2 separate regions of the Homo sapiens genome follow, and region 2 is linked to region 1. Evidence: promoter capture Hi-C in human tissues and cell types (Jung and others, 2019). All regions are on one chromosome and are shown on one strand. Each heading gives the region's core, a stretch centred on a gene start or on the middle of the fragment in contact. The rest is flanking DNA. Distances are from core to core; before and after follow the strand shown.

Evidence for each region. The method cuts DNA at HindIII sites, captures the fragments that hold promoters and counts their contacts. A contact is called where the count stands out against the background at its distance.
Region 2: a contact is called between a fragment that was not itself captured here and the fragment with the promoter of DOCK7 in region 1, in 6 of the 25 tissues and cell types used here (IMR-90 fibroblasts, bladder, heart right ventricle and 3 more).

Annotation. Positions count from the first base shown.
Region 1 is chr1:62,687,126-62,689,663 of GRCh38, forward strand. It overlaps DOCK7 (dedicator of cytokinesis 7), which reads right to left and starts at 1,261. Exons shown (of 50, transcript NM_001367561.1): 1 at 1,102-1,261. The coding sequence starts at 1,139. It overlaps DOCK7-DT (DOCK7 divergent transcript), which reads left to right and starts at 1,357. Exons shown (of 2, transcript NR_185999.1): 1 at 1,357-1,527. RefSeq lists a silencer at 614-1,363 and an enhancer at 2,373-2,538. The HindIII fragment of the contact is 7,491 bases long and covers 1-2,538 here.
Region 2 is chr1:62,727,683-62,730,220 of GRCh38, forward strand. No RefSeq gene overlaps it. Among named protein-coding and RNA genes, the nearest start is that of DOCK7-DT, 40 kb to the left of the region's middle. The HindIII fragment of the contact is 3,222 bases long and covers 1-2,538 here.

The DNA.
Region 1 (2,538 bases), core at 11-2,510:
CAGAACTACAACTGCCCCAAAACAAAAAAAGGTAATTTAATATGAATGCTTCTTTTCTTGGGACATCATAATTCACACAAATATGATTTTATTAAAACAAAAATGTCTACTGTCTCATACATAAGTATACTCCACAAAGAAATTCTACAAATATTAGAGTCCTCTGTCATTTAATTTTTATTTGGCGGGTGGGAGAAAGGTGGCAACCAACCACCACAAGTAGGTGAAAGGCTTTGAAACCTCCACCTCAATCACTTGCTTTACTTCAAGACTGCAATCACTTGCTTTACTTCAAGACTGCTAACATATAAAAGGATGTCAGTGTATAAAGAACACTGCCTATCATCCATCTTCTCGGGTGCTCTGAGAAACACAGGCGCACAGTTAAATTCACAGGCGAACTCAGAACAAGCTTCAGCCTGCAATCCGTCAGGGATTCGGCAGCTGCACACCGAAGGTGCAGCCCGCAGCTCTCAACTTTTCATTCTGTCCACACGTTTTCAATCCTGGACGCACAAGTCCACTTTGAACCTGGCCCGAGGGTGCAAAGAGGGTTCCTGTCAGATTTCTCAGGAAGAGAGAGACGCGTGAAGGAGGGGCGGCCTCCCACCCGCCCCGAGCCGCCGCGCGTTTCTCCTTTTGTTGGGGTGGAGGAGGGCGGACCCCGCACCCTCTAGGGGCCAAGAGGGGTGGGCGGAGAGACGGGAGGGGGCGAAACGCCGCGGCGGCCCCCGACGAGCCCGGGGGTGGGAACACAAAGAATTTGGGAAGCGGCCGACCGCCCTTCCATAAACCTCCGCAGAAGTCCAGGCCCGGGCCGCCGAGGAGCAGGAGGAGGCGGGCGCGCTGGAGTCCGCGGCCCTCTCCGCTCCCTGCCGAGGCTCAGCGGCGGGCGCGGGCTGAAGGCCGGGGTTCGAGGGCGGCGCGAGGCCTCCGCTACCCCCTCAGCCACCCCGAACCCCTTCCGCCCCGCCGCGAGCCAGGCCGCGGGATCCCGGTGCCGGCCCCGCCACACCCACCCGCCTCCTAGGCCAGGCCTGGGAGGACTCCGCGGCTCTTTCTCGGGCGGCGGCGGCGGCGCGCCCCACGCCGGATATTTACCTGCTGATCTTCTGGGCGAAGGCGCGGCGCTCGGCCATGGCTGCTGCGGCGACGGCGACGGCGGCGGCGGCTGCGGCGGGCCGGGTGCGGACCGGCGGGCGCGTGCCTCCTCGCTCGTGCTCCCTCCCTCGCGGCCTCCGCCAGTCCGGGCTCCGGACCTGGGAGGCTGGGGCTGGCGGCCGGAGCCAGGAACGAGCCCTGCCGTAATGTTCCTTAGAGGCGCGCAACGAGAAACCGCTCCTCCCCCAGCGCGTCAATCCCGGCGGGAACCCCGGCTGCGGAAGGCGGCTGCGGCCGGCGGGAGCCGAGGGGAAGAATGGAGCGCTGAGGAAGCGAGGCGCCAGCCCCAGCCGCTTCGCTGCCGCGGAGCCTGCACGACCGAGAGGTCGCGGAGAGAAGCCAGAGACAGGCCAGCGACCTGGCGAGGCAAGAAAATAAGATAACCGAACGCGTAGGGGGAGCTTGGCTTTCCCGAAATGGAAGGGAAGGAAATGAAAGGTGGGCTTTGCCGAGGGGGCTGTGCTTTAACCAAAGCCCTGGATGACTGGGTTCATGTTTCTGCAGCACCGGTCTCCGAGCTTTTTAAAGCACTTGGGTTTCTGCTTCGGCCTCATGAATGCAGCCTAACTGGAGAAACAGTGGTTTTTCTTATAGAGAAAGAGCCAGAAAATACCTTGCTCCTGCAGCGATAACAATAGTAATAGTTGACTTCTGGTGCTTAGCCAGCCACTGGATTAAAGTTTTTCAAGCACGAGCGCTTTGAAGTAGATCGTTACTATCACTATTTTAGAGGGAAGGAAATTGGCTTGGAAAAGCTAAGTGACTGGCCCCAGGTCGCACAGATGGTAAACTCTTCCACTGAGACTCAAACCCAGAGCCGGTTCTTTTCTTTGAGGACAGTTGTTTCCGTATTATTAACCCCTTTTGGATCTCTCTCTGTCTCTCATACATACATATATATATATATATATATATATATATATATATATATATATATATATATAAAATCCAGGTGAGCTCTAACGTTCACCCCCATTTTGATGTTCTGTTAAATAAGCTCTGTGTTGACCACTGAAACTGACCTTGTCCATAATAGCCTATAAAACAGAGACTAGCAGAGATTTGTTTTCATCTGTTCTGTTGTAATCCCATAATGTCTAGAATATTTGGCTCCTAATGCATATCTGTTGATACTGAAATTATGGTGACACTAAGAAAAATATCTTGGTTTCTTGTAGTACCTTTCCTCTTAAGTATTGCAAGAACTTAAAATGTGTATTTATTTATTGTTATTATTATATTCTCAGTATGTCCTGGTGGAATATGTTGGATACCTGTTTTCCTCTCTTTTACCATTGGAAAATCTGTAGCTTGGAGCCATTAGGTCACTTGCCAGAGTCACACACTGAGTCAGAGGTGAAAGCCTCAATTAGTCAG
Region 2 (2,538 bases), core at 16-2,515, 41 kb after region 1:
TCTCCTCTCCCTTTCTGTTGGTCATTTTTGGCTTATACCTTTTTTGAGGTCACATTACTGGGATTTCAGGAAGAACCAGTGGTGAAGGCACATTTTTAATCTACCATGCATAATAAGGTCCTTTATTTCTTGCCATTTTCATTCCTACTATAACAGTCATACTTCTCAAGGCAGCATAGATACCTCTGAGTTACAGGCAAAAGATCAAGTGCAAGAAAGTGATGTAGGACAGGCAAGCACCAAAGTGGAGCTTAGCCAGAGAGGGTTCTTGGCCTTGCCCAGAAAAGAATTCAAGGGTAATCCAGAGAAAGAAGAAAACAGCTTTGTTGAACAGTCAGTGTTACAGCTCGGTGACTGCTCCCGCAGAACAGGGCTTAGAGTAGCAGCTCGGGGTAGTTTTGCAGTCATATTTATACCCACTTTTAATTGTATGCAGATTAAGGGGCAGTTTATGCAGAAAAGGGGTAGTAACTGTTGAATGGTTAGGTACCATGGAAAGGGGTGATAACAACCCTGGTGTTGCCATGGCAACGGTAAATTGACATGGCACACTGGTGGGTGGGTCTGATTGAAAACTGCTTTCTCCTTGGCAACACCAGGGAGAAAGTGTGAAAAAGTGTCTTGGCTAGTCCTCAGTCTAGTCCAGTATCCAAGTCCCACCCCTAGAATCAAGTCCCGCCTCCTACCTTAAAAGTACAGAGGAGAAAAAGCACAAATATTAATATTTCAAGATATTATAACATTTCCAACAGTGCTGGAGCCAGCTCATACTGGCTCATAAGAATAGATGGCTTATATTCAGGAATTTTATGAGACAGTGGTTAACCATTATTAAAAATTAAATAAACAGAATATTTATTATAACATAATGAAATAAATTATATTAAAAACAGACAATACTCAAAACTTATCACTTCCTAATTATTGTAGTGAATCCTACTATTATCTATCTTCTTGAGGTTCTTTACATCTATCGTGTCTGTATCACAGAAATATTATATAATGGTGTTCCATATATTTATTTATAAATAAATAAATTAAATAAAACAAAACCAGGTATTATTCCGGCTGTCAAAAAACATTTGCCTCTAAACTTTCTTTTTTTTTTTTTGAGACAGAGTCTCGCTCTGTCACCTAGGCTGGAGTGCAGTGGCACGATCTCGGCTCACTGCAACCTCTGCCTCCCAGGTTCAAGCGATTCTCCTGCCTCAGCCTCCCCAGTAGCTGGGATCACAGGCGCATGCCATCACGCCCAGCTAATTTTTTGTATTTTTAGTAGAAATGGGGTTTCACCGTGTTAGCCAGGATGGCCTCCATCTCCTAACCTTGTGATCTGCCCGCCTTGGGCTCCCAAAGTGCTGGGATTACAGGTGTAAGCCACTGCGCCCAGCCTGCCTCTAAACTTTCAACCTATGCATGCCAAGGTTCAAAACCCTTCTGAAACAATTGATTATTGTTCTACATCCTTCACTAAACCCTTCCACACCACATCCATCCGAGCTGGGCTTAATGCCCCTCCTACACATTCTTAGCATATCATTCCTACCTACCACCTTTGTGTTAAAATGATCTGCTTATCGGCTTCTCTTTGGCTAAAGCTAAACTGTAAGCTTCTGTATGGAAAGCCTCCACAAACCCCAGATGAGACTGAATTTCCCTATTATAATTGTCCACAATTCCCTATAGTTTGGCTTTATAATACTTATGCGTGTGATTATATTTGTAACAGGAATAGCAATTAACGCTCTCTAGTCTTACATACCCATTAAGGCTGAGGCTTTCTTTCACACCCCTCAGTTTCCTCACAGCATTCCTTTTATTTTCAAAAGATTGCTTGAAAAAAAATGTTGAATGTTTCTTCCTCTTTTATTTAAAACAATAGTTTATATTTGTACAGAGTTTTTAAAGTTACATAATTCTATGAAGCTTATAATGAAAAAAGCAGTACACTGTTTCTCCTTTTCTACCCCCAATCCCCAGTACTCAAAGGCAACATTTAAAAGATTTTATTAGTTGTTTCTTCTCATACTTGCCTCTGTCTTCCTAAATAACATTCTTGTATTGCTGCTATTTGGAGATTGTTCAGTTTCATATATTTTGGCTTCCTGCTATGGAAGATGAAGATTAAGCTCTCTTATAATGCTCCCAACACCACACCCCATCACAAACACATTCACATACATTCTTTTCCTCCTCCATTTCTCCCTATATAATTACATCATTGCACAACTTTTGGTTAATTCAACATGACCATACATTGTACAATGACTACATTTCCTCTTTTATACAATATGTTTTGGTTTTCCCGGAATTAATAATTGCCTATATTGTTTGCTTACTTTTCTATGTACCTATAACTAATTCATCCTCAAACATTCCTCGAGAATTATAAATTTCCTTTCATAATGTTAAAATACATTGGTTGTTTCTTATTTTCATTCATTTTGTGACAACATCCTTCTTGGAGGTCTCTGTTAACCCTGCCCCCAACGTGAACAGATTGCTTTCTAGAAATGTTTTGCAGGTGTCACTCTAGGA